Regions from separate parts of the Homo sapiens genome. Here regions 2 and 3 are each linked to region 1. The links are contacts of gene promoters, found by promoter capture Hi-C in human tissues and cell types (Jung and others, 2019). All regions are on one chromosome and are shown on one strand. The core of a region is centred on a gene start or on the middle of the fragment in contact, and the rest is flanking DNA. Distances in the headings are between cores, read along the strand shown.

Region 1 (3,854 bases), core at 673-3,172:
GCGGGAAGCAGGGCGGCTGCTGAACGCAGCTGGTCTCGCAGTTGACGCCAGTGACGAAGGAGGCCCGGGCGGCCGGCTCAGGGGTGAAGTCGAGGTCGTGGTCCAACAGCTGGCCCCATTGCATGAACATGAGTGAGCGCTCCTGGTCCGGAGTCAGCTGATCAGTGGGGAAGCGCACGATCTCGTTGGAGACCGCGCGAGCCTGCGGGACACGGAGATCAGCTGGCGCCTGGGTCCGCGCACCGCGTGGCCGGGCCTCGCCCCCTCTGCCCGCCGGCGCTCACCAGAGCCACCGGGAAGCCGTTGCGCTTGACCCCGGGCGTCCAGCCGTAGGGAAGAGAGAAGCCGTCCTCATACTCCGCCGGCAGCCAGCGCACAAAGGCACGGTTGGAGGCCCCCAGCGTGGGGCTGCGTCTGCAGGGGAGGACAGGGCGCTGACACCGGGAGGCTTGTGGCGTCCGGGACGCCTCTCTGAGCCCGGTTCCTGCAGCCACCCCCAGCCAGCCGCACCTGTTGTTGCACATCCCGGTGATGGTGCGGTATTTGTCCTGCTCCGGGCAAGTCACCCCCACGTCCTGGTAGGCGCAGCCGCTTGACTTGGACAACACATTCAGCTGGGCGGGCGTCAGCACATCTGCCGGGGGAAAGAACAATGGGGGAGCTGAGCCGCCTCACTTCCTATCCCAGGCAACCTGAGGCTGAGGAGCCCTGGAGACTCCTGAGACTCCCTGGAGGAAGAAGTTGAGGGGATCACTGAGAGACGGCTGGGGTCCCTAGGAGGAGTCACTAGTGGAGCAGGGACCTGGGGTGTGATGGGCAACAGTACCAGTGACATTGAATGGCCTTCGCCACAGGGACCGCAGCTTCCTCTCCAGCAGGTCTAGAGCCACGTGCAGGTAGTCAGCGGCCCTCACCGCCGTCCTGGTGGCTGCCACCGGCTGCTTGAAGTAGGATAGGAGTTCCATGGGGCTGGCTGAGCCGCTGCGAAGCCGCTGCTTGATGCTGCTTGGAGAAAGGAGGAGTGAGGGCCAGAGAAGGGATACAGACCCACCCAGCAGAGCCCCAGCCCAGGGGCAGACATGCAGGACCATGCAGGCAGGCCCACGGGTGGGAGGAAGGCTTCCTTTTATAAAAAGGATATGGACCTGGGTGTCCAGACAGAGGCAAGGCTTTGGGAAGGATGGCTTTTAAGCTGTTCTCCCATCCAGAAACACAGGGACAGACAGACAGAAAGGGAGTCCACATGGGTCCCCATAGTCCCCCTCTCCCACCTTCAAGCTCCCTGCTGCCTGCTGCTTCTCTGAAAGGCCTGGGACATCCTTGCCCAGAGCTGGGCAGTGCCTCGTGCCCCACCTTTCCCGCCGCTCCTTGTAGGCCTTGTCCACCAGCTGCTTGGCCTCCTCCATGGAGCTCAGCACCAACGAGGTGTCCACCTCCCCCAGGACAGCTGCCCAGAGCAGGGATCACAAAGTCAGGAATGGGCCCCAACCCCCTATCAGGCCCCAGAGCTAGGAAGGCCTGCTCTGAGAAAAGGGGTCTCTGGAACACAACCACCCCAACACACCATCTTCTCCCACCTTGGGAACTGTTACCTGGAGCAGCACCTTCAGAGGGCTGGGGCGTGGCCAGAATGGCCAGGAGCCCTGCTAGGGCCAGAAGCAGCTTCATCTCTGCAGTGAGACCCCCAGCCCAGCAAGGTCCTAAGTCCACCATGCATCTGAGAGAAGAGAAGAAGGGAACCCCCATCTCTCTTCTCCTGGGCTGCTCAATCCCCCTTTGTACCTCAGCCCCACCTCAGAGGGCCCTGTCTATGGATAAAGCCAGACCTCCTTGAGGGAGGGGCTCACTGCTCTCTTATCCCCTTGCCAGCTGCTGTCATCCAGCTTCCAAGGACCCCACCTCCACAGCTCACCTGATATTGTCAGCTCCTCTTAGCTCAATCTGCGCTTTTATGTCCTCTAAGCTGGGGGTGGGGTGAGGTAGAGGAAGGTCTGATCCTGGAGACTGAACTCTTTCTCCTCCCCCACTGGGGTTGGAAGGTACACACAGAGGGGCCCCTGAAATGGGGGGAAGGGGCAGGAAAGGAGGGGCCAGCATTGTCCCCAGCCTTTTTTTTTTTTTTTTTTGAGACGTTATCTTGCTCTGTTGCCCAGGCTGATGTGCAATGGTTCAAGCGATTCTTCTGCCTCAGCCTCCCGAGTAGCTGGGATTACAGGTGCCCGCCACCACGCCCTAGCCTCTAGCCACATCATCAATTATTTCCTTAGGCAAGAAGTAATTTTTGTATTTTTCCTTAGGCAAGAAGCTAATTTTTGTATTTTTAGTAGATACAGGGTTTCACCATGTTGGCCAGGCTGGTCTTGAACTCCTGACCTCAAGTGATCCACCCGCCTCAGCCTCCCAAAGTGCTGGGATTACAGGCATGAGCCACTGGCCCCAGCCTGTCCCCAGCCTTTGAATTTAGCACTACCAGCCCAAGATTTCTCAGCTCACCATTGTGTGCCTATACCAGTGCTTGTCCCCAGGGGATACACACAACTAACCCCTCTGAAATTCTGGTTACACTGGTTATCCAGGGTTCCTTTGAAAGGAACAAAAGTCAGGAACTGGTAGCCCAAGGAATTGCAGGGAATAGAGTGCCCCCAGGGAAGACAGGAGGATGAAAGGGAGACCTGGAGTAAAGATGACCCAATTGGCCTCAGGTGGCCATCCCCCACTCCAACAGTAACCTGCATCCAACAGCCACCCAATGGGCAGCCTCTGGTTCTTGGTGGGGCTAAGGGGACAGGAAATCTGGCTGGAGACCGTTGGGCTTCACAGGAAGGAGGACCCTGGGGACTGTGGGCGCAGGACCAAGATAACTTCCTCTATCCCTCCTCACTCCCCTTTCTTCTTGGCTTCTGGTAGAGGGCTGTCTCCAAACTCCTCCTCCCCACCACCATCTGCTCCTGGATTTCAGGAACCAGGAGAGAGCAGAACTGGTTGTGGTTAGTGATCAGTTAGGTGATGCAGCCCAGGGCCTCTCTGGGACAGGATCAGTGCAGTTGGGAGGACTTGGGTTAATGATTCAGAATAATTCTGAAACAGAAGAGGATATTTCTTGCTTGAGAAAGCCCAGCAAAAGGGCCACCAATCTCAGCAGGAAAAGTACTACGACTTTTGACTGAATCAGTCTACCTCTCTGGGCCCTGGTCAGGCTGAGCTCGTGCCAACCATGCCTCCCATGTCCCATTTAGGTTCCCCCTCCTACCTTCAGCCACCTTCCCGCCACCCACTCTTTTTTTTTTTTTTTTTTTTTGAGACAGGGTCTCTCACTGTTGGCGGAGCTGGAGTACAGTGGTGCAATCTCGGCTCACTGCAACCTCTGCCTCCTGGGTTCAAGCAATTCTCCTGCCTCAGCCTCCCAAGTAGCTGGGATTACAGGCGCCCGCCACCATGCCCGGCTAATATTTTGTATTTTTAGTAGAGATGGGGTTTCAACATGTTGGCCAGGCTGGTCTCAAACTCCTGACCTCCTCCTGATCCACCCACTGTTGGGATTACAGGCGTGAGCCACCGCGCCCGGCCCACTCTTGTCTTCTATGCCCAGACCACCTCTTGGCCAAGGGACAAGGGACAGCAACACCCAGAATATCTTCCCAGTGTGTCCAGGGATTCTGTCCCCTGCTGAGAAGGGGAACCAAGCTTTTGCCCTGCCAGTGACTTGCTGTGTGTGAAGTTGGTCGAGTGGCTCTTTGTGAATCAAGCTCTAGAATTTTAGAGGCTTTTGGAAATGATTTTTCAATCCTTTAAGTAATATAATTTTCACTGATGAAAAGTTTGAGAACACGAGTATGCAAAAATAAAAATAAATC
Region 2 (3,854 bases), core at 920-3,419, 51 kb before region 1:
GCTGCAGTGAGCTGTGGTCGTGCCACTGCACTCCAGCATGCGTAACAGAGCGAGACCCTGTCTCAAAAAAGCAAAAAAAGAATTGTAGAAAAAGAAGAGTTTGACATTTTTTAAAAGGGAAATCTGGAAACACTAACTAAGACTGTGATATTTAAGCAAGTACTCAAAGATGGTGAGGAAATGAGCCATGTGGATATCTGGAGAATGAGCACTTCAGGCAGATGAAACAGCAAATGCAAAGCTGGGTGCTGGGACATGAGTATATTTTGTCTCAACTGTCTTACAACTGATGCAAGATTTTTCTCAGCCCCTTCACTGGACTTACAGCAGGGGTACCCCCTCTACTCAGCCCACCACGCTCAACCCCTTGCAGGAGGGAGCACATGAGCGAGTGAATGTGGGGTCCAGCCAGCCACTCCTAGTGCCAACACAAGAGCAACCTCCATGCAGGGCCTGCAGAGGCACCCAGCTAAGGGTGCCCAAAATCCCAAAGGCCCAGAGGGGTTGTTACAGTGCTCCTTTAGTTCCACTGTCCACGGATAGCGGTGTGTTAACAGTTCAGTTGGCCCCTTACCTCATCACGTGGGGAAGCTGCCCTCCACCAGTGAGGGCAAAGGGCCAGTGTGACAACCTTTCTGGGTAAAGTGTCCCAAGCTCTTGTCCAGGGTCCAAGAAAAATGAAGTCACATGGACAGCTGAAGGATGGCAAAGGTGGAGAATTTTAGTGAATGATAAAAATGGCTCAGTGGATAGGGGAATAGGAGAGGCAATGAGAAGGGCAGGTCATCTTCCCCAAAGTCAGGTTGTCTCTTCACAAAGTCAGGAGTCTCCTCTTCTACTGACTGAGCCTGGGGTCTTTATAGGCACAAGATGGGGAGTGCGTGCTGATTGGTCTGTGAGTATGCAAAAAAAGTTAAAGTGAAAACACCACTCAAAGGTGGGCATGACTGTGTAGAAAACCAATTAGGAAAAGCTAGATATATGTGAAATAGGTGAAGGATGGGGATCAATCAGAGGAAAGCACATCAAACAGGAGGACAAGTTCTCAATCCAGTCCAAGGATTTAACTTGTAGCTTGGCTTTCAGGATTTAAATTGTCTTCGACTTGGAGGTGGGTACCCAACCCTGTCTGTCTAGGCATTTGGCTGCCTCCTGTCACTATCATTATATGTGAATAATTAGAATAATTTATATTGTTAAATTAAACCTGTCTCCAAGCTCCCCCTCAGCAGAGCTGATGCGATGTTCAATGTTGTTATTGTGGCCCCTTCCACTTCCTGGACTCAGTGCAGAGTTCCTACGCCCCAGAAAGGGGCCTCCAATCCATGCTGGTCAGTGCTGGGGTGGTCATGCCCCAAGCTCCCAGCTGAGCAGGCTGCTCTCTGCTTACCGTGTCCATCTTCCTCCTGGTGACTAACTTGGCCTCCAAAGACCACAGCCTATAGAGTCCAGTCCCAGATATCCATGTGCCACCCTGTCAGAGGTCCATGCAGGAATTCTGCCCCGTGCAGGAATGCTGCAAGAGAGCTGAAATTCCCTGTTTCTTGGTCCTGCATCTCCAAGGTAACTAACCAATCCCTCCAACCCTATAGGCTTCAGCAACCTACCAGTTTCCTCTCCATTCTCCCTCCTCCCTCCCCCACCCCCCACCGTACCTCAATTGAGCTCCCTAGCCCTGTGAGCTATGTTTGTTTGTCACTTGTGTTTTTGTTTGTTGTTATTTGTTTGGTTAGTTTGGTCTATTGTTTATTTGCTTGTTTATTTTGTTTTTTCAAAACAAAGGCTTGTTAATCTTCCCAAAGACAAAGAAAATTCTGCCCTCCAGGACACAAAGCTTTAATTGCTCTCTTGAGAGAGGGTGAAGGGAAAGGTATTTTTAGTCTTTGAACGGAAGAAAATTAAGATTTCAATCGCATTAACATCTCTGGAATCCTTTCCCAGCTCTCCACCTCCAGGACCACCAGGCACTACCTCTTTCCAGGATACCATTAGTTCCTACCTTCGTCATTGCAACAGGGTGCCTCCTGACCTTCCTCTCTGCAGTCCTACCCTCCACCTCTTCCCCACCCTAAAGCCAAGTGATCTTTCTACAGCAATAATCTAATGACCCTTAAAATATCTTTGCCAATTAAGGAACAGGCACATGTTCCAATTCAGGCCAGTGAGACGTAAGAAAAAGCTTGCCAGGATTTCTGGGAAAGCTATTCTTTCTCTTCTGTGAGATTCTCTGCCTTCCCCTGCAGGGGGTTGTGTGCCATTTTGCCTGCAAGGGAAGGATGGAGTTGAAGCTGAGAGGAGGTAAAGCCAGGAGAACTGCAGGGTGAAGGAAGCCAGGCCCATTGAAGTAATTCAACCCTGAAGTCAACCCTATCCCTGGATTCTTGTTAGAGGTTTTTTTTTTTTTCAAATGATCAAAAAATATGGAACAATTATTGGTTGCATAGCAATGTGAATACTTGACAAAACTGAACAGTACACTTAAACATGGTTAAGATGGTAAATTTTATATTATGTGTATTTTACCACAACTAAAAAAAATTACACCAACAACAGCAACACAAATATGGAACAAATCGTATAATCACCATCCATGTGCCCAGCATTCAATTTGAAATTTGCCTTGTTAGTTAAGCCAATTTGAGCTAGTTTGTTGGTGACCTGGGCCCAGCAAACGCATGCTAAGTAATACGGAATGTGTGCCTGGAAGTAGGCATGCTGCAATTAACAGGCTTATACTTGATGGAATTGGCTGAAGAGATAGGGCTTGCTCATGAGCTAGAAAGTTAGCAATCCTATTTAAGGGATTGTGAAATAGAACTGGTTTCTCTGCCTGTTGAAGTTTAATGTGCAAAAAAATCACCTGGGGATCTTGTTCAAATGAAGATCCTGATTTGGTGGGAACTGAGAGTCTGCGTTCCTAACAAGCTCCCAGGTGGTGCCACTGCTGCTGAGCCATGGACCACACTTTGGATAGGAAGGAGTTACACTGATGTGTCTGGGAATGGGGACCACATACTATGCAGGCTGTTGCATTAGGAGGATGGTGGGGAAAATTCAGGATATTGGATTGTGTTACCAACTTCTTACAGCCCTCAGTAAGGTTCTACAAGAGACAGGCCCTTAGTTTCACACTGGCCTATGTGAAAACAAGAAAATACATCTCTGTTAAGAGAGGTTCTCTCTTGGCGGGGCACGGTGGCTCATGCCAGCACTTCGGGAGGCCGAGGCAGGTGGATCACAAGGTCAGGAGTTCAAGACCAGCCTGTCCAAGATGGTGAAACCCCGTCTCTACTAAAAATACAAATATTAGCTGGACGCCGTGGCAGTGCCTGTAATCCCAGCTACTCGGGAGGCTGAGGCAGGGGAATTGCTTGAACCCGGGGGCGGAGGTTGCAGTGAGCCAAGGTTGAGCCACTGCACTCCAGCCTGGGTGACAGAGTGAGACTCCATCAAAAAAAAAAAAAAAAAAAAAAAAAAGAGGTTCTCTCTGCCTATGAACTGAAATTTAAAAATGGCTGAAATGTGATCACGTGACTATGTCATCTTGGTCAACTTTTTAGAGTCTGCCCATATTTGTAGAATGAATGCATGAATGAGTGAGTGAGCTTGCTATAAGAAAGAGCTAGATAATTAGAGCCTCCCAGCAATGAAGCAGGTTGCCATGTAAATACTGAGCTCCCCAACCCCGGAAGTGTTCAAGCAGTGACTTGATGACCATCTGTCAGCTTTAATGTAAATAAATATGACCTGGGGATTTTGTGAAAATGCAGATTCTGATTTGGTACATCTGGGTGGGGCCTGAGATTCTGTATTTCTGAGTAGCTCCCAGAAGATTCCAATGCTATAAGACTTTG
Region 3 (3,854 bases), core at 659-3,158, 41 kb after region 1:
AGGCCAGTGGTGGAGGGGACTCCCCCAGGTCCTGGAGCATTTAAGGGCCCCTCCTGCAACCCCTCTCCCCACCGCCATAGTCCATTTCAGCTCTATCTGGAGGACCCCCGCCTTCCTCCCAAGATGGTGGAACTGGGGGCCACTTCCAGGCGCCCTACCTCCAGCAGCTGCACGGCTCCTTCATGTTCCCTCTGGGCTTCAGCCTGGGCCTACAGGTGGGGGGAACCAAAATACTGGAGGGAAGGAGAAGGAATGGGGTGGAGTAGAGAGGGCTGCGAGGGAGGAAGGGTAGAAAGGACAGAGGCAGGGGAGGAAGAAGCCGGGAGAAAGAAAAGGGTAGGGAGAGAGGGAAGAGGGATAGGGAAGGGGGAGGCCGAAGGGTTTCTCCCTCCTGAACACCCACCCTGAACCATACCTTAGACCAGAAGGCAAAGGGGACCAGGAGAAGCGTGGCTGAGTCAGCTCCCCTCTTTCCTGAGCAACCATCCTCCCAGTTTCCCCCCTACCTCTCTGGATGCTCCTTCTCAGCCTCTTTTGCCTGCTCCCTGTCCCCCATTTTGAATGTTAGGGTTACCCTGGACCCAGTGCTGGGCCCAGTTTATATTGTCTACTCTCTTCCTAGGGCTCCCATCTACTCATACAACTAAACACACTGGTGGCTCCAAATATCTCCAAGACCAACTTACCCATAACCCCAGGCTCATGTATCCAAGTGCCTGTGGACAGCTCCCCTTGAATGTTTAACGCGCAGCTCAGACATGGCCCAAATGGAACTCAGCACTCGGGATGACCTACCTCTCAGATCTGCTGCCCCTTCATCCTTCACCTCACGGAGTATGAAGAGCCCCACCCTCCACCAAGGTTTATACAGCAAATGGCTGTCAGAGAAGGGATTCAACTGGAATCCCACGGGGATCCTTGTCAATTCTTTTTTTTTTTTTTTGAGATGGAGTCTCGCTCTGTCGCCCAGGCTGGAGTGCAATGGTACGATCTCAGCTCACTGCAAGCTCTGCCTCCCGGGTTCAAACAATTCTCCTGCCTCAGCCTCCTGAGTAGCTGGGACTACAGGGGCCCGCCACCATGTCAGGTTAATTTTTGTATTTTTGGTAGAGACGGGGATTCACCATATTGGCCAGGCTGGCCTCGAACTCCTGACCTCAACTGATCCACCCACCTTGGCCTCCCAAAGTGCTGGGATGACAGGCATGAGCCACCATGCCCGGCCAGAACCTTGTCAGTTCTATCTCTAAAACATAACTCAAACCCAGGCACTTGTCTCCCGTTCCACTGCATGCATCTCTGTCCAGACAGCCACCATCTCCCTCCCAGGCCACCGCCCAGGCCCTGCTCCACGCCTGCTCCCACAGTCCACCCTCCATAATACCAGCCATGTGATCCTGTAAAATTATGACTCAGATCATGTCACTCCCCCACTTAGGATCTTTCAGGAGCTTCTATCTACTCACAGAGCAAAATACCCAAACTCTTCCCATGGCCGTTAAGGCCCGACAGGATCGGGTTCTTGTCTACTCCCACCACGCTGCCCATCCCTTGCTGTATTCTAGCCACATTGGTCTCAGGCTTCTTCAGCTCTTCCCTGCCACAGAGCATGTGCATGTCTACACCTCCTGGCTGGCAAGGTCAATTGTCACCTCCTCAGGGAGGCCTTCCCTGATGACCTCTAAAGTGGCTCCTCACCCCATCCCAGTCACTTTGTCACATCACCCTGTTCTTCTCCACCACTGTGCTCATCAGTGTCTGAAATCAGCTCACTCCTGGATGCTAATTTGCTGACTGCTCAGGGACCTGGTCTTTGTTCCCCACAGTCTCCCCGACGCCTAGCACAGTGCCGGGCACACAGTAAATGCTTGTGGAATGAGTGAGTGGCAAAGCTGGTGTCCAGCAGCCTGCCAGCTTCCCTCACTGCCGCCCCACCTGCTGCAGTCTCCGGACCTCCTCCTGCTTCTCCCGTAGGCTGAGCCGAGCCTGTTCATGCTCCACCTCCAGCTGCTGCCGCCGCTGGGCCACCTCCCGCATGTGCTGAAACACAAGATCTGAGTCAAGGCCAGAGCCCCTACTTGGCCATTTCTAGAGAAGATCTAAGATGAGGAAGCCTCAAACACCATTTGCTCCAGATTCCTCTATTACAAAGGAAACTGAGCCTGGAGCAGCTCCAGGCCCAGGCCTCAGAGCTAGTGCCCCTCACTAAGAATATTCTGCTGTCCCACTTGCTCCCCATGCCAGGGCCCAGCACCCTCTCCCACCTGCACCATCTCCTCACCTTCAGCACTTGCTCCAGGCTCTCCAGCTTGCTCTGCAGGCCCTGGCTCTTGCGAAGGGCTGAGTCCCTCTCCTGTGTCACCCCCAGGAGCTGGCCCCTCAGCTCCGCATTCTCCCACTCCACCTGGCGAGGGGGCAGTGACAGGGAGTTGGGTGGGTGAGCCTTGACCCACCAGCACCCTCACAGGGGGAACAGTACCCTACCCCTGCTCAGGGGTGGAGGAGAAAGCCCCTTGGCTGGGGACCGGGGCAGTGGTGGGAGCACAGGTCTCCACAGCACCTGGGCGGAAGTGGTACCTGCTCCTTCTCTGTGGCTCTCCCACTGAGCCGGGAGTTCTCCTCCACCAGGCGGGCATTCTCATTCTGCGCTTGTCTCAGCTGCAGTTCCTGAGCGGGCAGAGGAGCTCTCAGGAGGGAGCCCAGCACCCACATTCCCCCTCTCCCCACACAGAGGACCCTGCCCTCCTCCCAGGCAAGGCCTTCCTCCCCTGCTGGAACCTGCACCAGCCAGGAAAGGAAAGGAGCAGGAGGGAAAATGTGTTCTTGAGGGCAGCAGGGGTGGGAGCAGAGCTGAGAGGGAGCCCACCACCTGGCTGGCCGGGGTGAAGGGAGGAGCTGGCCTCTGGGTTGCCCTCAAGAGCTCACCAGCTCCTCACATCGCCTCTGCTTTTTCCGGGCTTCCTGCTCCAGGCTCTCGCATTTCTTCCGCTTCTTGCTGAGCTCCGATTCCTGAGGGGTCAGAACCAAGTGCTCCTCATGAGGGAAGGTACATCTGCCCACAGCAGGCTGCCTCCAGCCCTTGACCTAGGACTTACCAGCTGCTGCACCCTCTGCTCTTTCTCTGGCTCCCCTAGAATCACGGGTAGGTTGTCCGCATCCTCCTGGGGCGTGGCCTGGAAATGCCCAGGGGCAAGGGGCTGGCACCTGAGAACAGGGCCCCAGGGCAGCCTGCCCCAGCCCAGCCTGCCCAGAGCAGGTTCCCACCCCATCATTCAGCCAGCAAGAGATCCCTGCCTAGCAAGAGCAAAGAGGGGTACTGTCTGCCCACCCACCTCCCATTGTCTCCAGCTGATGTGTAAGTACAAAGGCTGCACCCCTGTGTCCTGGAGCCATAAGTGCTTTGAGATCCTGGGACCCACGTGTGCCCTGGGAGATGGGTCCTTTATCCAGGCCAAAGCTTTCCCTTTTTAGCTTCCAGCAGCAGCCCTGCTCTGCACTCAATAACTGTCCTGGGTGTCCTTCAGCGACTGGCAGAGAACTAGGAGGCTGCCTGGGCCCCCGGGGATGTGGTGTTCCCCAAGATAGGGGTTCTGTATCATCCAAATCTGGGCTTGGCCTAGAGCAGCGCAAGTCCAGCCAGACCCTTCTCCTGGCTTCCCCCAAGCCCACCCTACCACACCTTCCGATTATCCGTGCAAACTTTGGGGGAGGACAGGTCTTGATGGGAGGGTGCATCTCCCTTCCAGGGCCAGCCAGGGAGACAAAATCTGAGCAAGAAGCCTCCCCCCACCCGGAGGTCTTGGTCACTATCAGATCACTGCCTGGTCTCTCCTCCCAGCCCTCTTCCCAGAAGG

The links. The method cuts DNA at HindIII sites, captures the fragments that hold promoters and counts their contacts. A contact is called where the count stands out against the background at its distance.
Region 2: a fragment that was not itself captured here is called in contact with the fragment with the promoter of MPO in region 1 in 2 of the 25 tissues and cell types used here (bladder and pancreas).
Region 3: a contact is called between a fragment that was not itself captured here and the fragment with the promoter of MPO in region 1, in 1 of the 25 tissues and cell types used here (adrenal gland).

The regions. Positions count from the first base shown.
Region 1 is chr17:58,279,013-58,282,866 of GRCh38, forward strand. It overlaps MPO (myeloperoxidase), which reads right to left and starts at 1,923. Exons shown (of 12, transcript NM_000250.2): 1 at 1,593-1,923; 2 at 1,354-1,447; 3 at 827-1,002; 4 at 511-634; 5 at 285-414; 6 at 1-202. The coding sequence starts at 1,746. RefSeq lists enhancers at 1-271, 2,856-2,873 and promoters at 1,913-2,507, 1,913-2,053, 2,446-2,847, 2,732-2,957, 3,003-3,203. The HindIII fragment of the contact is 18,673 bases long and covers 1-3,854 here.
Region 2 is chr17:58,227,334-58,231,187 of GRCh38, forward strand. The region is part of intron 1 of LOC105371841 (a long non-coding RNA gene); the gene reads left to right. Among named protein-coding and RNA genes, the nearest start is that of LPO, 9.3 kb to the right of the region's middle. The HindIII fragment of the contact is 3,843 bases long and covers 249-3,854 here.
Region 3 is chr17:58,320,373-58,324,226 of GRCh38, forward strand. TSPOAP1 (TSPO associated protein 1) reads right to left here. Exons shown (of 32, transcript NM_004758.4): 6 at 3,096-3,173; 7 at 2,926-3,009; 8 at 2,578-2,667; 9 at 2,282-2,404; 10 at 1,936-2,040; 11 at 159-209. Among named protein-coding and RNA genes, the nearest start is that of TSPOAP1-AS1, 3.2 kb to the right of the region's middle. The HindIII fragment of the contact is 5,479 bases long and covers 1-3,854 here.